4 separate regions of the Homo sapiens genome follow, and regions 2, 3 and 4 are each linked to region 1. Evidence: promoter capture Hi-C in 16 types of primary human blood cells and fetal thymus (Javierre and others, 2016). All regions are on one chromosome and are shown on one strand. The core of a region is centred on a gene start or on the middle of the fragment in contact, and the rest is flanking DNA. Distances in the headings are between cores, read along the strand shown.

Evidence for each region. Contacts are between HindIII fragments. The CHiCAGO score rates a contact against its expected background, and 5 or more counts as called.
Region 2: a contact is called between a fragment that was not itself captured here and the fragment with the promoter of LINC01550 in region 1, in 5 of 17 cell types (non-activated CD4 T cells, activated CD4 T cells, total CD4 T cells and 2 more). The highest score is 8.3, in non-activated CD4 T cells.
Region 3: a fragment that was not itself captured here is called in contact with the fragment with the promoter of LINC01550 in region 1 in 2 of 17 cell types (naive CD4 T cells and activated CD4 T cells); the score reaches 8.2 in naive CD4 T cells.
Region 4: a contact is called between a fragment that was not itself captured here and the fragment with the promoter of LINC01550 in region 1, in 1 of 17 cell types (activated CD4 T cells). The highest score is 7.8, in activated CD4 T cells.

The regions. Positions count from the first base shown.
Region 1 is chr14:97,975,429-97,981,600 of GRCh38, forward strand. LINC01550 (long intergenic non-protein coding RNA 1550) reads right to left here and starts at 2,696. Exons shown (of 3, transcript NR_015430.2): 1 at 2,549-2,696. RefSeq lists an enhancer at 2,696-3,195. The HindIII fragment of the contact is 2,868 bases long and covers 1,616-4,483 here.
Region 2 is chr14:99,278,394-99,284,698 of GRCh38, forward strand. It overlaps LOC105370660 (a long non-coding RNA gene), which reads right to left. Exons shown (of 3, transcript XR_001750881.2): 3 at 1,618-3,344. Among named protein-coding and RNA genes, the nearest start is that of BCL11B, 9.3 kb to the left of the region's middle. RefSeq lists an enhancer at 5,527-6,249. The HindIII fragment of the contact is 8,266 bases long and covers 1-6,305 here.
Region 3 is chr14:99,218,511-99,224,587 of GRCh38, forward strand. The region is part of intron 3 of BCL11B (BCL11 transcription factor B); the gene reads right to left. Among named protein-coding and RNA genes, the nearest start is that of BCL11B, 51 kb to the right of the region's middle. The HindIII fragment of the contact is 455 bases long and covers 3,709-4,163 here.
Region 4 is chr14:99,244,332-99,250,392 of GRCh38, forward strand. The region is part of intron 2 of BCL11B (BCL11 transcription factor B); the gene reads right to left. Among named protein-coding and RNA genes, the nearest start is that of BCL11B, 25 kb to the right of the region's middle. RefSeq lists an enhancer at 2,480-3,376. The HindIII fragment of the contact is 1,817 bases long and covers 2,495-4,311 here.

The sequences.
Region 1 (6,172 bases), core at 1,446-3,945:
ACCAAGGAGAGCAGGTTGTTGATAGGAATGGAGCAGACAGGATTGTTTTGTAGTGATTACTACCAAACACCAGGAACTACATTTCAACACCTGCCCGAGGCCCCATCCCTGCCCAGCCTTTCTTTGTCCAATGGCCAGTGACCCTTTCCCACTGACCCAGATGACCAGACCCCATGGAGGGGACAATAAAGATATGGACTGAAGGATAGAGGTGGGCTGAGGATGCCCTGTGGGAACAGGAGGGAACTACAGAGGGGGCGGGAGAAATAAATACATTCTTATTTGATACTGTTTAAAATTAGGACTCTAAACGGGGAACTCCTCTTTTCCCTGCCCCCAACTCCCTTTGGTTTTAAAAATCTCACTGAGAGTGGTTGTCATGAAGGAATTTAGACAAGACTTTGACAAGGTGCCAAAATGGTTTATTTTAAAATGTTGTTCCCGAAAGCACCGGAATATTAAGTTGGAGCAAACGTTGCTTGGAAGAGCGAAGGGGTTGTGGTCACACATTCTTGGAAGAAGGGTGATGGAGATCAAGGTGTTTGTAACCTGGAATTAACAAACGCAGGTGGACCGAAGGACTCAGTCACCAGGGAGTTTTTTTTTACAAATACATGTGTAAGAGTGTGTGTGAGTGTAGGTGAGTGTGGGTGTGTGTGTGAGTGTGGGTGAGTGTGTGAGTGTATGTGTGAGTATGTGTGAGTGTATGTGTGAGTGTGTGTGTGAGTGTGGGCGCGTGTGTGTGAGTGTGGGTGAGTGTGTGTGTGAGTGTGGGTGAGTGTGTGGGTGAGTGTGGGTGAGTGTGTGTCAGTGTTTCTCAACTGCGGGGCATTTTCGGAGTTGGGGTGCAGAAGGAGATTTTCTTTAATTAATTAGATGTTTACCTCCAGCATCATCCCTCAGTGGTTTAGACAATCATCTGCCCACATGTTAGGAATGAGATTCAAGAAAGCCTCTTGGAGTGAAATTTTCCTGGAAATATCCTGATTCTTGGCGGCACACACCCTCTCCCTCTTTCTGTGATAGAAACAGCCAGTTCTGCATTATTCCAAACCACAAAGCAAGCGACATGCCATCCCAACTTAGGATATGAAGGAAGTATCAGCCCCCTAATTGCACAGGGGCCACACAGCCTGCATCTCCCTCCATCGTCCCGACTGCATGCTTTTGATTGTTTCATAATAAAAGTGGCCGGCTAAATTATGACTACTTGTGATTTATTTGCCATGTCATTTAGACTTTTCATATGTATAAATTTGCCATTTGAAAAGAAAGAGAAAATTCACTGCTATTCCCCAAGGCCTCGTTTTTGGGGAGCTCCTCTAACATCATGAACAGAGGCTTTGTGACTTCTAAAGTGATTAGCTCCTATCCGGAGGTTTTGGAACATATCTGTGCTCAGAAGCAGTCTGCCGGGGTGAAATTCTATCTGGAATAGTGTCCTAACCCCATCGGAGAGAGACTCTGAATTTTTAAAACGCCTGTTAAGGACCCCTGGGTATGAGCCCCGCACAAACATGTCTGCGGCACCCACAGCTGTGCCTCAATGAAGGCCCAATTTCTCCATTGCACAGATGAAATTGCAAAGGCCCAGCAATGTTAGCCAAATTCCCCAAGCTTAATGCCAGAGCCTGCTTCCACTCCAGGACAAAGTGGTTTCAAAGTCCATACTTGCCCCACCCTGGTGGCCTGCCCTGGGGAAGGTCACTGCCAAGAAGGCTCCTGGGCCGTCTTGCAGCTGCTGCCTCTTCTTTTAATTACGAAAGAAATGCATCATCATGAAAAATCAACAATACACAAGATATAAAGTTAAAAGGCAAAGTCCCCCCTCATCCTCTCTCTCAGCCCCTCAAGTATATTAGAAGATCTTTTTAGGGTTGAATTTTCACTCTGCAGGAGGGTGTTCTGTATACAAAGAATACGACCCTTTCTTCCTCTTTAATTTGCTTATAGCTGGTACATTTCAAAAAAAAATAAAAAGTGACCCATGCCTTTGATGTTTTTTTTTTCCCCTTATTTTTGTCAACATATTGTGGAGAATGCTGAGTTCTTTGAATTGTTTTTCCCTCTGACAGCAAATCACCAAGATGTACTTTTCCAGAGCCTAACATCCTTGAATTCACAAAAGTTCCAGTCTGGAGTCATAATGTGGAACGTAAGCAGTTCTAGTCAGTTCTGATCTTGGCAACATGAATTCTCCCCTTTCCCCGGGGAGACTCAGAAACCTGCATTTTCACAAGATTTCCCAAGTGACATGTGTGCACAACAGGGTTTGAGAAACCCTGTGCTGGACTCAGCTGCTTCAGAGAGAAGACACAGAACAATTGCCAAGCTATCAAAAAAAGCTCAGACTGACAGCAGAGAACTCAATAGAAATGCCCCATCCGACTGTTGAAACTCAGGCCCAAACTACTGCAAGAGAGTGGAGAACTGTTTCTCCTCTGAAAAGGCCCGATTTCGACTAAATGAAAGCAAAACTGTAGGGACCATTTCCCACCTAGTAGCTTGAAGCCCTACCCGGTCACCAAATTGGCCTAGCTGGTCCTACCTGCATTTGGTAAGAGCCGGGGATTGGGACGAGGCAGAGAGCAAGACCAAGCTGGTTTCCTCTCCGGTTTCCTCCGGGGTGGCTGGGTCCCAGGTCCTGCCCCCGCCTCGCCCTGTGCAAGCTCGGTGCAGTGCAGCCCCTCCGGCTCTCGCCCCACAATGCCGTGCGCAGGCTGGCAGCAGTTCAGCTGAGGACTAAACGCTTGGCTCAAGTTCAACACGGCTGCCAAGATTTGGCAACCAGAGAGTTGCAGGGAAGCAGCAGGCTGCTAAACCCTTTCACATTTTTAATTAGATCCACACACCCATGTCTTTGAGCTATCATAAATATACAGATGACATAGAGAGTATTATTCGGGGTTAAAAAAAAAAAAAAGGAAGCAAACTCTACTAAGGTACAGCTTACCTTATTGAAATAATTTCCCTATCACTAGTTTGAGGGCTGAGGAGGAAAAAGAGAAGGTAGTGATATTTGCTTAAGTAGAACCACATCTGACAAGGGAATCTACCCAGGATCTGGAAAACACAGGTCTCGGCTGCCTTGCTATCTTCCTGGGCTTCGAGAATATCACCAGAAGAGGGCATTCTTGGCGCCGGCTCAGCCCTGTGCAGCCCGGAGCTGGCAGGCAGCAGTGCTGGAGGAGTCATCCCTCAGGCCACTCCCACCTCCCGTTCTTGGGGATAGCTTTAATATCGCCACGGAGCAGAGAGGTTCTCTCCTTCGCCCTAAATGCAGCAACTTTTATACTCCATGTTGCCTTACTATTCTTCTCGTTTTATTTCCTTCTCTGGATTGTTTTTGGGTATCTTCCCCTGGAAAACAATTGCAGATGCTTCTAAATTTTTCTAAGTCCTGTGCCGCAACATGCTCAGCTTCTTCCCCTCAGAACCAGCCTTTCCCCTTGCACTCAGCCCCTGGGCGATTCTCCCTCCGGGGAGGAAAGAAGATTCAACTCTTGATTCAAATGCTCCGGATTTCACTCTGGTTTCGCTGTGTGGCTTTGGACATAGGATTTAAAGCCTTCACGTTGGTTCCCTCATCTGAAAGATCCCAAAGCAATTCTGGCCTCACAGAGTGGCTCTGGGGTTTAAATCCTATGTACAAGGCTCGTAACACAGTCAGCACCCAACACTGAATATTCGATAGAACATGTGCCTTGTAGACAGTCAGCTAACAAACAACTCCACCAAAACAACAGTGCTAGTCCTTAGTCTTCTTCTTCCCTGAACTGCTTCTCCTCTTGTTTGTGACAAAGGCCACCCATGTTTCTCAGACAACTAACCCTAGTCTGATCAACTTGCCGTAAGATGAGAGTGAGCCCATGCATTGGTGTGCATGCCCTTAATTTAAAAGACATGTTAAAAAGGAAATGAAACACTTGAAATGCAGGAAAGAAGTGCCTCTGGTTGTCCCATCTGAGAGCACAAAGTTTATAAATAGAACCATCACAAGCATCAAACACGAGCTGTGCTAAGGCATCAAACACACATACATACACACACACGCACACACATGTTTGTGTCCTTGGCTTATGGTGAACAATTTGTACACCTTTCAGTGGCCCCCGCAGAAAACCAGAGCTTGTAGTGGACACTTGGCAGCATTTGGTCTTTTCCTCATCCTTCCTTCATTTATTTTTTCTTCACATATGACTTGAAAATAGAGCATGTTTTACTGTGGCAAAATTCCCTCTATACTTGACCTGCAAACAGGACAGTCAGGCTAACTGGGATGACCTGGTCCAATGAAGTGGGCTGGAGACAATTCTACGCCCAATAGGCACCTTTCAGCAGATGGAAAGGGTGAGGACAAACAGGTTGGTGGGCCTCAGCACCTCATCTTTTCCTGTAGTCTCTCTTGCTCCCCAACACCTCACTATCTCCCCCAATCCCCAGGTACAGGGGATTTCCTTTCACTAGAAGAAGAAAGGATACAAGCTTCTTATGCACGTGTGCACACACGCACACCCATTCATGCTCACAGACACTGAAACAAGACCCTTACACCAGGACTGTTCCACTTGGAATACAGAGAGCAGTAATGGCTCCCACAGCCATGAAGACCCAGGCTGAGTCCCACTTGCCTCTATGGTCCTGATCAGGCTCTGACAGGGAGCACACTGCTGCTCATGATTAGTTATTTATACATGAGGAAGCAGCAAATTTCTATGAGAGTAAAGTAAGATATGATCCACATCATGCTTTCCTGGAGCAAAAAGGGTCAAGCTGAAGCCGGTCTCATTCTCTGAGCTATCGTGGGCTGCACCTACACGTCCTTCCCACAGACGCATTGAAGGAAACGGGCCCTGTGACACCCTGACCCTTTCTGCACTTTATGTAGGGTGAAGGAGGTAGGCTGGGAATTAATACATGCACTTCATGTATTTAAGGGCCATTCCCTAATAGTACTCTGAGACTTCCTGGGAAATATTATTAACTCAGGACTGACATGTATTAGTCTGCTTGAGCTGCTATAACAAAATACCACAGACTGGGTGACTTAAATCCCAGAAATGTATTTTCTCAGTGTTCTGGAGGCTGACAAGTCCAAGATCATTTCTGGCTGGCCTGGTTTCTGCTGAGGGCTCACCTCTTGTCTTGTAGACAGCCACATGGCCCTCCCTTGGTGTGTGTGCCTGGGGAAATAGCATTCTGGTGTCTCTTATAAAGACACTCATTCTATCATATCAGGACTCTACTTTTATGACCTCAGTAAGTCTTACTTCCTTCGAGCCCCCATTTCCAAATATGGCCATACTGGGGTTTAGAGCCTCAGGATATATATTTGGAGGGATAGAAATTTTCAATCCATAATAAAAGCATTTTCGTACTTTTGTGCATTTTGTACTTTTGGAAGGAGATGGAGTCAGATGGAAATTCTGCTCACTCCGCCACCCACTAGCTGTGTGGCCTTGTATAAATCTATTAACCACTCTGAGTCTTATTTTCCACTTTTGAAAAACAGGGGTTAAAAATGCTTTCCCTAGAGTGTGATTGTGAGTAATAGGTTAGAGTAATATATACACAGTTCCCGGCCAAGGGAGGCACTCAAAAAATGCAACAGCCATAGTGGTAGTTGATACCATTATTTATTATTTGATGTTATTATTTGTTAAAACCACCCAGAGAGTGTTGCCTGAAACACTGGCTTAGAGCTTTGCATCCCAAATGTTCTCTATACTGCCGTTTGCATCTGTTTATCACCAATGCTGACATGAGTCAATGAAGCTCATAAGGAGTGTGACCGTCTGTAATAATATCTTCCATGGGGTCCAGAGGAAACAAACATGCGCACTTCCAGAGAACTGTGTATAAATATTCATATCACTTTACGTTTAGGGCATTTTGCACTAGTTGTTGATACCATTATGCATTTAGCATGGTCATGACAATCAGGTTTGAAACTCTTGGTTAAAGCGAAAGTCTTGCAAGAAAACATAAATGTGGCTGCATTACACTTGGGGAGACTAAACTTGAGGGAGCCAAAGATTGGAATTATGCAGTTTCAAAGGCCATACCCTGAGCTTCACAATCCTGCCTGAGTCAGCAATTGCAACAATAATGCTGTATAACAAATCATCCCAGCTCAGATGCTTGAAAGACTAAGTATTTCTTCTCACGCTCA
Region 2 (6,305 bases), core at 1,032-3,531, 1.3 Mb after region 1:
GATTTCAAGCCTTTGGAATCACTGAAACAAGAATAGCTTCTATAATATGGATGTGGCAATAACATTTCCCATTTGAACTTGTGACAAAGCCCCTCTGCCTGCCTCTCTCTCTCTCTCTCTTTCTCCCCCGCTTCTACCCACCCCGCCGGCCCCATCACACACACACACACACACACGTATCATGAAATTAACACTAGACAGGAGCAAAAAAGATCATCTCTGACCACTCTGATGATCTGGATTCTAAATAAGGCAGATTTATGGTCAATTATTTTAAATCTGTATTTGGACCTCTGGATTCAAATGGGTAGATTCATCAGCTGTTGGGATTCAGCACAGGCATCTGCAGTTTCATTATTTGTATCTGCTTAACAGGAACAATTAGAGACTGAAGAGTGAGGACGCCTGTTTGGGGACCGGTTTGGTATTGTACCCAGACCACACATTCCGGCTGGGAAGGAACACAGTAATGTATAAAGCATTAGTGGATTTAACGCTCTGCATTGTGCTTGGGGAATCGAATTGTTGATGTTTCTGGCAAGAACTCATACTCCAATTGAAATCTATCAAACACCTTAATTAGCTCCGGGTACCTAAATGCACCCAACCAAGAGGCAAGTTGGAAAGCAGCAGAAGGAAAGGGCAGGAGCTGGCACAGAGGTGTCATGGGCCTCCCTGGGTACCTTCAGCACCCTGTGGCCTCACTTTCCAGACCGGAATACATGGGCCATGGTGGAAAGTCAGACAACTTGCAGCTCTCACTGCAGCAGCCACAGGGATGTGATTGAAGGTGTTTGGATGGTTTGACCAGTGTTGGCTAAGGGGATGAGAAGAGGCCGCAGTGACACAAAGCTGTTGCCGATAATAACTGGAGCCTTTTTCTGAGCCAACCGTTCCACCTGGACCTCAGTACAAATTATTGTTTTCAATTACCACCTGTGTATTCCTTCCCATGCAACTTATTGATGTAAAATTACAGCTACACCGGTATAAATAAGTTATGCTGCAGTTGTAAAATGGAAGAAATTTTGTTGTAGCAATTATGTTCAGCAAGATGACAAAATAAATTTCCAGAGCTGTGCCTGCAGTAACCTGGGGAATTTAAACCTCATAATTTCCATTCATTTCAGATAATTTGGAGTAATTTCTATATGTAATAACTTTGTAATGAAAAACACAGCGGTACTGAAGTGATTTCGCTCCGTTTTTTTCTCCTATGGTATACATGGCACAAAATAAATGATAAAAATAATATTTCCTTTTTATATGTGTGTGTGTTGAGTAATTCCTTCAGTAAAAATCATAAACTAATACCCAGACTAAATCTCTGTCCACAAAATGAAAAATAAATTGAGTTAAAGAAAGTGAAAAAGTATGAAGGGCTTTGGATGCTTTATTGTGACTTTATTGAATTGTTTTGTTCCCATGCTCCCTCTGATCCCTAAGGGTTACAGTTCCCAAGTAAGGGGCAAATGCAGGGGAGCCCCAGATGGCTCAGAGGAGGTAGCAGGGGGACCCCCAAAGGCCAGGAAACCCTCGCCAGATGGTGATTTCTCCCCAGAAGCATAAGAGACTCGTTCTCCTCTTGAGATGAGCATCTTTAACGGTTGATTTCACTGCGACTGGAAAGGACCTGGTAGGCTGGTCAGTGGTCCTGTCAGTTCTGACATATTTCCTCCTTTAATTAAAGACAAGGCAAGGTGGAGCACCAGTGCCCTGCCCGACCTATGACGGTGACACCTGCCACTGATGTATGCAGCCCCTGAATGCCACGATTTATTCATCGGAAGCTCCCACTGAGCTGTGAGAAGGTGACAGGAATTACAGCAGCTGCATTAGCTCCCAGATCCACGCGATTAGCCTCTGCCACTGCCACGGTGCACATCAAGGGTTTCCTCAAAGTGAAAAATCGAGGCGTCATTCCCTAAAACCTGCCTGCTAGTAGTCACAGCTAGTGACTGTCAGTAGCCTCCCCACCAGCCATGAGGGCTGCCTGCTGCCTTGAAGTAGAATGGCTCCCCTGCCCTGCAAACCCTGGCCTGCTACATGCTGCCAGGGTGCCCATCTGGAAGCTCAGGCTTTGGCTGAGTCGGCTGGGGAAAGGGCATTCATTTCTCAGGCTCTGTGGTCTCCCTGTCAGATGGGCTTCACCGCTCTGTATAAGCGGTGATGAGTGGGTCTTAGCAAAGCGCCTGGCCCGGTCTCTCGCCATGCAGCAGTCGCATCATAAGCATGGCTGTGATTTGTTCCTTCAACAACACACGCGGATGGGACGCCTGCTGTATGCCAAGCACACCATGGGGGACAGGGCCCAAAGATGGCAATATTGTGAGGTGGTGGTACTGAGGTTCCAAGTTCAGGCAAGCCTGAATCTGACACACCACCCCAGCTCCAAAGAACAGAGCAAGGGAAAACAAAAGTTGATGACATAGTTCAGCAATTATAGTAGTGAGAGTACAGCCCATCACATGGACTCATGGCCATGTGTCCCAAGTGCCATGGGAGCAAAGCAGCAGGGCTCAGGGGTCCTGAGCACAGATTGCAGAATTCTTCCAAGACCCTCAAGACCTACTCATTCAAAGAGACACTCTGTCTAATTACATTGTGAGGCATTTATCTTATCTAATCCTCAGAAGAGAAAGACTTTCATCCCCCTTAGACAGGAAACCCGAAGTCAGCCACCACGAGGTAGAGCCCAAATCACCCCAGGTCTGTCTCTGTGTATAACCACTATGCCGTCCTATACCCAGGTTGGATTTCCAGCCATCCTGCAAGCCAATAACAGGCAGCTGAAAACATCACCAGATGTGGAACCAGAACAGCAAAGACAAAGTCAGTGCTGGATCGAGACATGGAGGAAGGAAGAGAATTACAGAGAAACAAAGTTTGCATTAAGGACACAGTATACTCAGTTAGTAGAAGAGATTTTGTTTGTTTGTTTGTTTGTTTGAGACAGCAAAATCCAACAAGACACACCACGGTTATGAAACCAGATAATTGAGGCAGAGAGAAATGGGGTGGAGAGAGTGGGGTAAGACAGACGTTTCTGCTGGTAAAATTTGAAACAGACAAACAACTCATGTTGGGACAGAGTTTTAGTGTACAAAGCCCTTTTGCTTCCCTGACTTGAGTTTGTCCTCCCAGCAGCCTGTGAGAAAAGCAGGACAGGGCACACACAGCTTGATATACGCCTCCGAGATCGCCAGGGTCAAGTCTCCGCTGCGCCCGCTGCTAGCTGCAAAAGCCTTCATGCGGTTTCTCTTCTCGACATCCCAGGTCCTCCTCTATCAACGCCTCTGTGAGCATCTCATCAGATGACCTCTCAGAAAGCCCCCAGCACAGGCCTGGCACAGAGGAGGCATTGAATAAATGATAGATATTATTATGGAGGCGTTTTACTCATGAAACAAGAGATTCACATTCAACTCAGTCTAAGGTACACACGTCAATATTTCAGGAATGAAATGGGAAATTTCCCCCAGATTTCACTGGTACATAATCGACTAATATTGATGAAGCATCTTGTCTCAGCGCTGCTGTAACAAAATACCTGAGACCGCGTAATGTATACAGAATAGATATTGCCGGGCGCAGTGGCTCATGCCTGTAATCCCAGCACTTTGGGAGGCCAAGGCGGGCAGATCACCTGAGGTCAGGAGTTCAAGACCAGCCTGGCCAACATGGTGAAACCCCATCTCTACAAAAATACAAAAATTAGCCAGGCATGATGGTAGGTGCCTGTAATCCCAGCTACTCAGGATGCTGAAACAGGAGAATCGCTTGAGCTTGGGAGGCGGAGGTTACAGTGAGCCGAGATCACGCCATTTTACTCCAGCCTGGGTGACAGAGTGAGACTCCATCTCAAAAAAAAAAAAAAAAAAAAAAAAAGAATAGACGTTGATTTCTCACATTTCTGGAGGTTGGCAAGTCCAAGATGAAGGCGTCAGAAGGTTCAGTGTCTGGTGAGGGCCCCAGCCTTTGCTGCCAAGATGGTGCCTTGTTGCCACATCCTCCAGGGTGGACAAACACGACAGCTTCACATGGCAGAGGAGCAAACAGGCCTAAGCTAGTTCCCTCCAGCCCTTTCTCTCCTAATCCACTCATGGGGCAGAGCCTCCATGACTCAGTCATCTCCCCAGAGGCCCTACCTCTGAATACCACCACAATGGGGACTGAGTTTCAGCGTGAATTTTGGAGGGGACACATTCAAATCATAGCACACCTACTTTGTGCCAAGGACCAGGCTAACCTTTGCCAATACCCAGAGGAAAACATTATAGTTGTTATCTGCTAGTAGCAGGTCACTGGGCTCTGAGCTTCTCAAAGCAGACAGTCCAGATCCTACCTTGTCTCCTGTGCCTGTGACGGGCACATAGGAGGGTATCAGTGACTGAGCCAGCTGGACCTCACTACAAGACCTAATACACAGGCAAACTAGAAAATCCAAGGCCAGCCGGGCGCGGTGGCTCTCACCTGTAATCCCAGCACTTTGGGAGGCCAAAACGGGTGGGTCACCTGAGGTCAGAGGCCAGAAGTTCGCGACCAGCCTGGCCAACATGGTGAAACGCTGTCTCTACTAAAAATACAAAAATTAGCTGGGCGTGGCAGCAGGCACCTGTAATCCCAGCTACTCAGGAGGCTGAGGCGGAGAATCGCTTGAACCCAGGAAGCGGAGTTTGCAGCGAGCCGAGATCTGGCCACTGAACTCCAGCCTGGGGGACAAGAGCAAAACTCCATCTCGGAAAAAAAAAAAAAAAGAAAGAAAGAAAAAGAAAAACCATGGCCATGGGACAAAAACTGCAAAGAAAGCTCTCAGGGTTCAGAGATGAGCATATGGGAGTTTGAGGGTGGGGAATCATTGTTCATTTTCTTCTCTCGGTCTCCACATTTTCTATAATCTGCATTTATGGTTTTTATTATCAGCCGCCAAAAATTAAAAATTAAAGGTTGTAGCGGCTGAACCTTTTGACTAATTATTCAGGAGGAAAATAATAGACTACATATGAGAAAAAGACCGGAAGGAGATTCAGAAATAACAGCAGCTATTGTGTGAGAATTATGAGATTAGGGGGGATTTTAAAAGAACTTTGTCTCCCACCGGGCGCGGTGGCTCATACCTGTAATCTCAGCACTTTGGGAGCCCGAGACAGGCGAATCACAAGGTCATGAGTTCAAGATCAGCCTGGCCAACATAGTGAAACCCCATCTCTACTAAAAATAAAAAAAATTAGCTTGCTGTAGTGGCGGGCTAATCCCAGCTACTCTGGAGGCTGAGGCAGGAGAATCGCTTGAACCCGAGAGGCGGAGGTTGCAGTGAGCCAAGATCACGCCACTGTACTCCAGCCCAGGTGACAGAGTGAGGCTCTGTCTCAAAAAGAAAAAAAGGAACTTTGTTTCCCAAACCCCCTAGAATGTCACTAAAGACTTGCTGTACATTTTTTTTTCTTTTTTGAAATGGCGTCTGGCTTTATCACCCAGGCTGGAGTACAGTGGCACAATATCTCGGCTCACTGCAACCTCTGCCTCCCAGGTTCAAGCAATTCTGCCTCAGCGTCCCAAGTAGCTGGAGCTACAGGTGCCCGCCACCATGACTGGCTAATTTTTGTATTTTTGTATTTTTAGTAGAGACAGGGTTTCCCCATATAGGCAAAGCTGCTCTCGAACTCCTGGCCTCAAGTGATCCGCCTGCCTCTGCCTCCCAAAGTGCTGAGATTACAGGCGTGAGCCACCGCGCCCAGCCTCGTACATTGTAATAAATAGTTTTGTAAAACTATTCTTTGTGAAAGAATCAAGGAGATGGTTGCCATGCTATGGTGTGAGACCATCCTGGGTGCAGGGAGGTCTGTGGGACGTGGTTGGATGAGACCTTCTTTAAGAAGCTGCCATGCTTTTTCCTTCCTTTCCTTCTGTCTGCAGCCCTCCATTACCTGGGACTGCACGCTAAGGCAAAGCTCTCTCACAGCTGCCAAACAGGCTGATTTTAAAGCCACCTCTGCTCGCCCTGCTGGGGCTGGCTAACCGGCTAACCAGCTACACAGAACCTGCTGGAACCTGGCCTTCCGTGGGGTGGGCGCAGGAAGCAGCTTGGTTAGGCTCTCTGCTGGGTGCTTGCGAAGCATGGAGCACTTTCCGACACTCACAGTGAGGAATGTCCTCTGGAAGCCTCCCCGCTCCCCACCTTCTGTCATGGGGAGATAATTCATTTATGCAGCGTTCACAGAAGACTGACATTTTCGACTTTTTTAGCAGAATAAATTTATAAGGTAAATTAGGGGGTGGGAGCCTTAGTGTCCTAGGCAGATTCA
Region 3 (6,077 bases), core at 2,686-5,185, 1.2 Mb after region 1:
GGGCCAGGCATTTCAGAATCACCACATTCCTGAGAAAAAAAGGAACATGTGTCCATCTTGTCAAAAGCCAGCTCCAGCTTCAATGCAGGAGACATTTGGGGAATCCCCTGTAAGTGCCTGAACCTGTCCCAGACCTCAGTTCACCGAGACCAGCTGGGTTTCCTGCCCTGGAAGGGCCTAGAATCCAGCAAGAGGCATGCAGAGAAGATTGGATGGAGCCACCTGAAATAAGCTGTCCACAGCTAGATCCCAGGACCTGTAAATGTGAGCTTATTTAGGGGCAAGGTCACTGCAGGTGTGACTAAGTGAAGGCTGTTGATGAGATCATTCTGGATGGTCTAGGTGGGTCCTGAATCCAAAGACAATTGTCTTTTTTATTTTAATTGTTCAGAAGAGAAGTCAAACCCAGAGGAGAAAGCTGTGTGCCCACAGAGGCAGGGAATCAGGGAGCACGGCCCTGCCGACCCCTCCATCTTGGACCTGTGGCCTCCCAAACTGTGAGAAAATACATTTCTTTTCTTTTTTTTATTTCTTCTTTTTTTTTTTTTGAGACAGGGTCTCACTGTGTTGCCCAAGGCTGGAGTGCAGTGGCACGATCTCGGCTCATGGCAGCCTCAACCTCCCTGGGCTCAAGGGCTCCTCCTGCCTCCACCTCCCCAGTAGCTGGGATTACAGGTGTATGCCACCATTCTTGGCTAATTTTTTTAGAGAATGGGTTTCGCCATGTTGCCCAGGCTGGTCTTGAACTGCTGGGCTCAAGAGATCCACCCACCTCAGCCTCCCAAAGTGCTGGGATTACAGGCGTGAGCCACCGCACCCGACCACAGAATCAATTTCTTATTGTCTTAGGCTACCCAGTCTGTGCCCATTTGCTACGGCAGCCCTGGGACACCAATACAGGACAATAGAGAGAAAGCACAACCACTAATAAGAATCATCGCAATTACCATCCCGATATACAAAGGACCCAAGGCCACTCCCTTGAGATTCCCTGTCCCCAGTCCCTCCCCGCCCAGCCAAGGAAGCAAAACCAGTGTGATGATTCCCATCAGGCAGGGAGACCCCACAAGGCTCAGAGAGGGCCAAAGCGTGCACAGGACACCGAGTGAGCTCTATCTCGCTCCTAGGGATTCTGATTCCAAATACGGGGCTCCTTCTGCTAAGTCACACTCAAATCAACACCCTGAAGACACAACAGAAAGAACAATGAAAATTGTCCATTTGTAGAATTTTCTTCCCCAAGCTATCAAGGTAGCTAAATGTTTAGCTTTGTTATAAAAAATAAAGATAAAAAATAAAAATTAAAAAAAAAAAAGCTGTCCTGGGAGACAGAACTGAGAACTGCCATGGGCAACCATTTCCAAGACAAAGGGGATTCAAGACCCTCAACTAAAATATACTGAAGGTGGTAGCCCCCAGCAGTCCAGTGGTGACTATAGGGCCACACCTAGGCTGGCTGAGGCTGGATTCAAACCGCCCTCAGGTTTATTACCCACCTAACTTGGACCAGTTGTTGCCACATCCCTGAGAGGCAGGTTCCTTGGCTATCAACTCCAACAGTCCAAAAAACACTAAAATTACCCAACAGTCAGATAAGGATGCGGAGAAATGAGAACCTCTGTGCACTGTTGGTGAGAATGTAAAACAGCGTAGCCACTATAGAAAACGGTTTGGCAATTCCTCAAAAAATTAAATATAGGATTACCCTTTGACGCAGAAACTCCACTTCCGCAGAAACTCCAAAAGAACTGAAAGCAAGGATTCAAACAGATTATTGTCCACCCACGTTCTTAGCTGTGCCATTCACAATAGCCAAAAGCAGCCCAACTGTCCATCAATGGATGGGTGGATAAGCAAAATGTGGTCTATCCATATGATAGAATATTATTCAGCCTCAAGAAGGAAGGAGATTGTAACACGTGCTACAACATGGATGGACCTCGAAGACACTATACTAAGTGAAATGAGCTAGGTACAAAAGGACAAGCACTGTATGATTCCACTTACCTAAGGAACCTAGAGTAGTCACATTCAGAGAGACAGAACGGAGAATGGGGGGCTGGGGAGAGGGGAAATGGGAAGTTAGTGTTTAATGGTGCCAGAGCTCTGTTTGGGATGATGGAAAAGCTCTGGAGATGGACGGTGGTGATGGCTGCATAACAATTGCAATGTACTTATTGCCACCGAACTGTGCACTTAAAAATTGTTAAAATGGTAAATCTAATGTTTATCTTACCACAATTAAAAAAACTCACAATCGAAGCATTGTGAGAATCACTGGAGATACACAGAAAGCCCACAGCACACAGTGGACCCTTGATCAATGGTATTTTTTATTTTATTTATTTTTTTTATTTTTAGACAGCATCTCGCTCTGTTGCCCAGGCTGGAGTGCAATGCTGTGATCTCGGCTCACTGCAACCTCCACCTCCCGGGTTCAAGCGATTCTCCTGCCTCAGCCTCCCAAGTAGCTGGGACTATAGGCGCCCGCCACCACGCCCAGCTACATTTTTTTATATTTTTAATAGAGATGGGGTTTCAACATGTTGGCCAGGATGGTCTTGATCTCTTGACCTTGTGATCCGCCTGCCTGCCTCAGCCTCCCAAAGTGCTGGGATTACAGGCGTGAGCCACCGCGACTGGCCTGATCAAAGGTATTTTTTAAGATTAAAATGTTAATAACTGAGTTGGCTAATAAAACCCAAGGAAATTCATGCAAAAGAACTTGAGTCAGAACTGGTTAAATACAACACCAAGAGCAGACTCACGCACCCAGTGGGCCTTGCCCCACTAGCTATTCCTCACTTCTTAACAAAGGCAATCATTTAAAATGTCCAGTTTTATGAAAAGATTCCAGCGGCCCCCGTTTCTGCAGGTACTGACTCCATTTTTGCATTCACCTCCCTGGAGAAGTCCTGAGCGCCACGATCCCTTCCTTGAGAATCATACAATACTGGCGTTCTAATTACCCGGGGCTCAGGCTGGCCCAGTGGCAGCTCTGTGATTCACAAGCTCACTCCTCTCCCTTGGCTGTTCCTACTCACACCTGCCAGGTACAAGGCCAGGCGGGAGGGGCAGGCCAGGACCAGACGCAAGGACAGGAGCAGGATGCCCACGTGGGCCCCAGGCTCGAGGAGGCTTGGATTCAAATCCCACCTGTGCCGTCCACCAGACGCGCAAGGAAAGCAATTTCGCATCTGCGAAAACCAGGAGCGGTCCTGTCACCTCTCACCTGTGAACTACAAGAGAAGCTGCCTGGAAAGCCCAAATTCAGAGCTGGGAGAGAAGGCCCCACCTGGGCACCCCATCGCAGTGAGTTCCTCTAGGGCAAGGACCCTGTCACGCCCATTTCTGGACCCTAGGGTCTAGCCCAGGGTCTGGCACATGTATGACCAGCGTATGAAGGAAGACCTGGGGGATCCTCCCGGGAACCATATCTGAGTTTGATCTGGTTTCCCTGGCATAATGCTGGGCCCCACAGAGGGACCCCTGCCCACCGAGGGTTCCGTCCCACTGCTTTTTGGGTAAAAGTGGCCAGCCTTGATTATGTTTGAATAAACTGTATCTCATGGTTTAGACTATTTGGGTTTAATTGTAAAATATACACAGAACACAGCCCCTCCACCCCGACCCTGCCCTCAGGTTCGAAAAGTCAAGTACATTTTGTTCCCCTCTCCCCGCACCATAAAAACAACAAAGAACACCTCAAGCTTTTTTAAGGGCTATTATTTCTTTCGCTCCCCAGTGGGGGAAAAAAAATGGATTCCACTGTCCTGTGTACAAAAACAAGGAGGATGCTCATACAAGAATGTGGCTAGCAGCGTTTTCTGTGTTTCCTCTTTCTCTCACAGGTGTAGACACTGCCTTTTCTGAGTCTTCATCATCCCCCAGCATCTCCTGGGCACCTGCTGGGACTCATCCCCGCCCCAGCCACTGGAGAGACAGAGATGAGCCTGGTCGAGGAAATCGACTTGGTTAAGGCTGGCGTGGGACCACATGCCAAGTCCCTGACTCCCAGTCAGAACCCCAAAACCCAATTTGAGGTGATCCGATGAGAAAATCTCGCTCATGCTCTAGCCCTCTTCTTCAAGGTCAAAACTGCCTTCTGGTGGACTGAGGATCGGTGACTTTGTTTCCCTCTATGTCCAGCCAGGGCTGGAGGAAGCTTGTTGTCAGCAGGCCCCTTCCCAGAAGACACCACATCCACACCTGTCACTGCCCACAGTGACTGGACCCTCAGCCTCAAGTTCCCCGGTGGTAAAACCCCTGTAGATCTCCCAACCCTCCAGGCTCCTGTAAGCCCAGCCCTTTAATTTCTTTATTTCCCTTTCTTTCTTTCTTTCTTTCTTTCCTTCTTTCCTTCCTTTCTTTCCTTTCTTTCTTTCTCTTTCTCTCTTTCTGTCTGCTACAAGTAAACTTTATTTGATGTAATGTAATACAACATTTTCAAGTTTCACAATGAGCGTTTGACATAAATAATCATTTAAATTAGGAATATAAGTATGCACGGTCACTTGAGCAAATTTGCAGTTCAGGGGTTGGTACGAGCTTTGTCTGAAAGCTTTTTTCTCCTTTAGGAAAAAGTAGCCCTTCCCTTCACCTGGTAAGAAGCACTATCAATGGGAGTTAGAAGAAGTCCATAATCCACCTTGGAATTCCAGCTGATCTGTGAGAGGACAGCTTTCTGTATTCTAGAAAAATAATATTCTCTTTCAGTTCATTCATTTTTCCCCATGGAAGATATTGGCACTCTCTTCATCTACTGTCTTTCTGTCTCCTTAGCTGCTGCTTATTACATAGAACCATTTTTTAAAAATATAATATCTGCAAAGAGACCTCTTCTGTTCCCTTACCTCCCCTAATGTCTATTATTTTGTGGAGAGGGTAGGGTGGTGGGAGCCAGGGGCCAGAATTGCTTAGACACACATTTGATCTCAGGTACAGAGAACACAAATTCTCTGGAAGGAACCCCATGGGGGTCGGGAGCATTTTCCAAGAGTGGTCCAGGTGACCTTCAATTCACACAATTCTGTTTAATACGGCGCTGCTCCATGAGGATGAGCATATGTATGCCCCATTTCCAGAAACAGCACCACCTTTCATGGAAAACCCATTACTCTCTCGCTTCTTCCACATAACATGCGGTTATGGACCAGCCATGGGCCCAATGCACCACTGGATAAAATGAGAGTCAAAAACACGCCAATAATCACGTGGATTCCAATGCAGTCAGGCACCACTTGTGCTTCATTCAGGTAAAAATCCTCACAGAAGGTACCCCCCACCTCTCAGCAATGCGACCACAAGGACAAGCTGTCCTCAGGTGGGACACCTCTCCATCCTGAGATCTGCTCTTGAGCTGCACCATGGCAATAAGTGAGGGAGCACCCGAGCAGCAGCCAATTGATTCATTTTTTTCAAACAGAGAAAGGCGCCATGGGGACATGCATTTCACATCCACTGAGTGAGAAGGCCCTCCATGGGCACCCCCACCACGGTGAGTTCCTCTAGGGCAAGGACCCCGTCATGCCCATTTCCGGATCCCTCAGTCCAGCCCAGGGTCTGGCACAAGGATGACCAGTGCATGAAGGAAGACCTTCAGGACCCTCCCAGGTACCATATCAGAGTTTGATTTGGTTTTCTACCAGCAGCTCCTTCTCTGTTGTCCACTACAGCCCAGTGGGAAGCCAGACGGGAGAGCTCCAAGTACAGCTGGGAGGCTGGCCAGACCTGAGTCTGAATCTCTGTTTTGAGACTCTCTGTCCAAGTTCTGCTATTTGTGTGCTGTGTGACCCCTGGTGGGTTGTGTGGCCTCTCTGAGCCCCAATATCCTCATAAGCAAAAGGGTGGGGGAGTGCCTCTTCTTGGGAGCGTTACAACGATGAGATGTCATGCCTAGGACTGAGCCGGCCCTTTAGCAAACAGTGGCAAGCCCCAGGAACACTGATGATGTTGGCCCTTCCTCTGCCTTCATTCACACTAAGAAACTCTCCCAGGCAAGTGGCTTTCCAAGAGCTAAGTCGTCACTGGGGTGCCGATTACCCAAGGCCAGAGTCTCACAAGGCTTTCCGGCATCT
Region 4 (6,061 bases), core at 2,153-4,652, 1.3 Mb after region 1:
ATCCTAAAATGTACATCCCTTTAAATGAACTGCAGAGACCTAGGATGGGGCCCGTCAAACACACACACACATAATTAGCGTTTCATCTTTCTTTCTGTAAAGGAATCCGGTAACATAAATATTAATCAAACACGAGAATCTGCCAGTTCGTTTTGGACCATTATGAGTGCTGGACTGTGATCTTTACCCGTATTTACAGATATTCAAAGGCGGATTCTATCTTGTTAGACCCACTGTTATAAATGGACGTCTGAGAAATCAGCGAGCAAGTTCAGACAGATATGAAAACCTTCCTGTCCAGGACTGGCAGTAGCTTTGAGCTCCCAAGTGTTGAATTTGTTACCTTTTCCGGAGGGCTTGCAAAAAATAAATTGACAAATGCCTTCAGATTCCTCTACCAGAAAAGCTGGCTGCTCAAAGTTCGGGTTAGCTAAATCTGAGATTTTAAAATCAACTCTTACTCAAAACGCCATGACGGTGCCGTTTACACAATACTCGCCTTGAGAGCCCAGCAAGTGTAACATACTATTTCATATTATAAGTATATAGGTATACGCATATTTTTAATACTACCTTGACTCTTGTTATAGCAAATCAATTCTGCCTGGTTTAGATTTATTTCTGAAAAATGGAAAATAGAGATGTGGGTCCAATCCTAGCCTGGAAAAGCTGTCACAGTGAAGGTAAACTTTTAATCGGCTACAGGCGAACAGTATACAGTTTTATTTCCAGAGTAACAGCTTTGGGAAAATGTTTGAACATTTTCTTAAGAGCTTTGTGGTGGACAGGCTGGGCGTCCAACCACTGCTTTTCTGGGCCTTTAAGGGCCTGTTGAAGTGCTTTAAACAATTGGAGGCCAATTTTTAACACACAAAACTAGAGACTCCTAGCAAGGTGACGATTTGCATACAAATTCTTGTTGGAAGAGGTTATCCTAAGAGAAGTCAGGCTGAAAGGAGGACTGACATTAAATCCCTGTAATTCCAGGAGCTTCGGTGTCCCACTCCAGTGGAGGGTTCCATTCCCACACAATTGGGAAAACACTTTTGTCCTTGAGAAAAGCGGGCTTACTCTTCTCCCACTCGGAAAGAAACTAAGGTCCCCACGAAATCCCCACTTTGAGATGGGGCTGTTGCCCCTGGATGATCACATTTTTGTACAAGGGAACTCCCGGAGGCTCCTTCCGTCCCGGCCTCACCTGGATCCCGGGAACCGCCCGCTCTGTCCCGCCAAGGTGGGCTGAGGAAGACGGCGCCACTCATCAGGGCAATGGCGGCGGGCGGAAGAGGGATCCCCGTGCGCCCCCAGCACCCGGGACGAATGCCACCCCGGCGAAGCGACCCGACCGGCGCGCACGGTTTCGGGGAGGGGACCACTTCCACATTCCCCATGCCCGAGAAGGTCACCCACCCGGGAGAGCGCCCAAGGGCCAGAGAGGAGGCGACTGGTGGAGGAGGGGCGGCCCCGTGCGCACAAAGGGGCCCGGGGCCGGCAGGCTCCCCGCCCTTGACCTTGGGTCTCCGCCTCCATCCATCTCCGCCGGCTGCCAGGGAAGGGGGCTGGCCCGGGGCCAGAGGCGTGCTCGCTGGGCTGCTGCTGGGCTGGGGACCGACGGGGGCGGGGGGGAAAGGAGCCGGGAAAAAAGACTCCAGGGCTGCAGAGTGCTCCGAGGAAGCCTGCATTCCACCACCTTCAGGAGCCGGTCCCGAGGCGGCTCCGATTCACTGCATGCCCCCCGCCCCCCAAAGCAAAAGTTGCACGGATGCACGAGGGAAACCCCTTCCCAAAGCTAGCCCTTCGACTCGCCCACCCCCCGCCTTCCTCGGACCCAGGCCGAGTGGGGGAGGGGAGTGTCAGGGGAGGAAGAAAGGAGCGCGCCTTCCCAGCGAGGCCAGACGCGGGCTGGGTCAGCTGCGCCTCCGCCCGCCCCTCGCCGCCCGGCTCAGGCAGCTGCTCCATTAAGCCCCCGAATTATGCATGGACCTTGAGCCCTCTCGGCCCTCCCGCCCCACCAAGGCACAATCAACGTGCGCAGCGGGCGCGGGTCAAAGAGAGAGGGAAGGAGGTGGACGATGGGCGCAAGGCCGTGGGCGAATCAGAGGCCGGCGGCCAGGCGGGGGCCAGGCGCGCCCGCAGGCCTGGGAACAGTGCCGAGGAGCCTCCCGACCCGGCCAGGGCCAGCCGGGAAAGGGGCACCGCTCGCAGGGGAGGCCCCCGCGCAGTTTTGAAGTTGCCAAAGTGTCCGCGCCGTGCCGGGTGCGGGGTCCGGGAGATGCAGCCGCCCCCGCGGAGCTCTGCGCCCCTGGCCTCGGGGAAGGCCATTGTGTTCTCCTGTGTGGCAATGAAGGGGGCTATGGACCCCAACCATTGAGCCCTTGGAGGGAGGGGCCTGAAGACCCCTCGGGCAGGGCGGGGGAGGCTGTCTTGCGGGCGGCGGAGAGGATGGGTATGATTTGCTCGGGATAGGCACCGTCGCGGGGAGGGGAGGAGGCCAAGCTTGAGGAGGGGCTGCTGGAGATGGAAGGAAGTGAGAGGAGACTTGCAAGTTGCAAACGTCGGGGAAACCGGAAAATTGCAGTAGCGGGGAGGCAGGTGGCGCCCAGAGGTTCGAAAGCAGAATTGGGAGGACTTCGATGTCCACCTCGCAGACAGTGACCCAGGCCCCAGAGGGCTCCGCAGCCTGGAGCCTCGCGTCCCGCCTCCCCGCAACACGCTGTTTTCAGCGTTCCAGACCACAGCGCTGCAGTCTACGCTGCCCTGACGCTGGAGTGTGGACCTTGTTTTGCTCCTCGGGGCCCGTCTGTTTCTGGAAATGACTTCTTTCTCTCTTTCCCCTTCTCCCCAAAGCAAAGGCCAGGTCAGGAAAATTATATACTTCGTTTTCCCAACAAATAAAGTCGCCTAGTTTGCAGGGAAAGTTTTACAAGCCAATGATGCAGAGAGAAGACCACACTGTTTAGCTTTCTTAATTGGCTGGCTTTGAACTTGAGGTGGGAGGAGAAAAGAACCCGCTCCAGCCCCAGGAAAACTTAGTTTTGCTGGGTTTACCAACTCCAACAGTTTTTAGCCAGCTGCTGAAGGTGGCAGGGAGTCACTGAAGGTTTGTCCCATTTTCTCCCGAACAGAGAAGAATTCAGACAGTTGTTGTCTCTCTGAGCCCAGGACAGCCAGTCTCTGCCCTCAAACCCCAAGGGAGGAGCCTGGAATCCCTGGTTGGCTGGCTACACTCTCCAGGAGGTGTGCTCTACCCTGAAAAAGGCTTTGAAATAAAGCCACCTTCTCCACTCCTTTCCAGGATGCCTTTGGCACCTGCAGTCATCAGGAGGTAGACGCGTGTTTTCTGGACACTCTTGTGGATTGGACGGATGGCTTCATCTGTGCCATATCACTAGAGGCACAGCCTAGGCACTGGGGCTACCAGCTCCTAGGGCTCTGTGCCTCTGGATTCATCTTCAGCAGACGCTGACCCACGCACCTGTTTGCCTGCACCTTTGAGGTTGTGTCCACACCCGCAACCTGAAGGCCATGGAAGCTGCCCAGGCACTCAGCCCCCAGGGCAGGGGATGGGGGGAAAACAGCCCTGATCAAACATTGCCTTGGCTTAGAGACAGAGCAGGCGGTCCTGGGCTGGGGGGCTCACCCTGCCCTTGGCTGCTGCCTTTTCTCCACACCAGGAGTGGGGGAGTCTGACTTTTCACCTCCAACAAAAAGGCTATTTTGTTACTATTTTTCCGCCCAGAGGAGGCTGTGGTCCCAGTTTCCCAGCTGTCTGAGCAGCGAGGGGCAGATGCTTTCCCAGACCTGTGGCTGATCAAGGGCTCCCTCCTCCCTCCCTCCCTGCTCTCCTCTCCCAACCCTCAGCACAGACTCCTCCTTTCTGAGACACCCCAGGGCCCTCCAGACCAAAACCAGCGGACCAGCAAGAAGGCGTCAAGAAAACTCAAAAACAAAATAAAATGAAGCCTCGGGTGCCTTGCCTTCTCCAGCAAGGCCTCTTCTTCCCTGGGTCCAACTCGAGGCTTGCAAGTCCTGATCACACCCTCCCCTGAGGAGGCTCCCACTCCCTGTGTGCCCAGAGGTCACTGGCCGCCCCCAGCAGGCTCTGGGCCAGGGTGGGTCCAGATCTTGCAGGGCCCGAGGTTTATACAATTCAGGGTACACTCATCACAAAGAAAAGAATGCCAAACCACACAGGGACATTAGGGACAGGGCCTGGTCACACAAGGGGCTCTGAGCTTCAACTGTTTACCTCACGGTGAGTGGACCAAATTCTCCCATAAGGATCTTCACAGCCTGGGGCAGAAAGACCTAAGCTTTCAATCTAACAGTTTTCATTTTCACCACCAGTTTCTTCAGAGAAAACTGACTCCTAAGCCTCATTAATGTGAAAAATGAGGAAAGTTGGGGGAACTACTGGGTGGGAAAGGAATTGAGGTGGGAAATGCACGACCTTCTGCCTGGCTCTTGCAGCTGTTAGAAACCACTGGTGGCTCCATCTCACATTTCAGCCCAGCAGGCTCAGCCCCAGAGACGGGGAAGATCTGTCTGCTCAAGGTCACACAGCATGCCAGCCACAGTAGGATGCCATCCTAGGTCTCGAGCCAGAGTCCACTGTGCCTGCCTCTCCCCACTCTGGACTCAACAGGGCCACTTGCCTGTAACTCATGACGAGGTGGGGGCCAGCTCCTCCCAAAATGCAGTCAACATGAAACCACAGATGTGTGCAGGACAGGTGGGTGCCTACTGTCTTGGTTCTTTCACCCCACTCTGGAACCCAAGTCCCATCACCAAGATTCGACCTCAGAGTGGAAATCACTCATTGCCCAGCCAGGAGCAGAAAGGGCCTGCACCAGCCACAGTTCAAGAACACAGGATCCCACGAGGCCTGGGCTCCTGGGACATGACACAGTGAAGACCCAGGGCCTCCCTGGGAAGTCAGGAGCCTGTCCTCTTTTTTTATTTTAATTTTAATTTTAAGTTCTGGGGTACATGTGCAGGGTGTGCAGGTTTGTTACATGGGTAAACGTGTGCCATGGTGGTTTGCTGCACCTACCAACCCATCGCCTAGGTATTAAGCCCAGCATGCATTAGCTATTTTTCCTAATGCTCTCCCTCCCAGGAGCCTGGTCTCTAGGCGCAACTGAGCTGGTGACTCACCGGACAACTGTGCAAGGTACCTCTCTATGACTCAGTTGCCTCATCTGCAAAATGAAAGGAATACCTGATTTACCACCCTCGTGGGGCAGAGAGGTGGATGGAATGTAGGCACAGTTATGACCACAGTGAAGAACATAACTGCCGGAGTTGACACCCTGGGACCCTACTCACCGCTGTGTGACCTTGGGTAAATAACTTAACATCTCTGGGCTTCAGTTTCCTCTTCTATAAAGTGGGGCTGATATTAGCATATCATAAGGTCATAGGGAGGATTACACCAGTTAGTATCTGCAGAGTCTTTAGAATAGTGTCTGGCACACAGTAAGATCTAGTAAGTATGAGTTAAATTTAACATCAGGCTGGGTGCGGTGGCTCGTGCCTGTAATCCCAACAGTTTGGGAGGCCGAGGCGGGTGGATCACCTGAATACAGGAGTTTGAGACCAGCCTGGCCAACATGGCAAAACCCCATCTCACTAAAACTACAAAAATTAGCCAGGCAGGCGCCTGTAATCCCAACTACTCAGGAGGCTGAGACAGGAGAATCTTTTTTTTTTTTTTTTTTTTGAGATGGAATCTCCTTCTGTCGCCCAGGCTGGAGTACAGTGGCATGATCTCGGCTCACTGCAAGCTCCACCTCCTGGGTTCACACCATTCTCCTGCCTCAGCCTCCTGAGTAGCTGGGACTACAGGCACCCGCCACCATGCCCAGCTAATTTTTTGTATTTTTAGTCGAGACGGAGTTTCACCGTGTTAGCCAGGATGGTCTCGATCACCTGACCTCATGATCCCCCCGCCTCGGCCTCCCAAAGTCCTGAGATTACAGGCGTGAGCCCCCGTGCCCAGCAGGAGAATCTCTTGAACCTAGGAGGCAGAGGTTTTGGTGAGCTGAGATCGCGCCCTTGC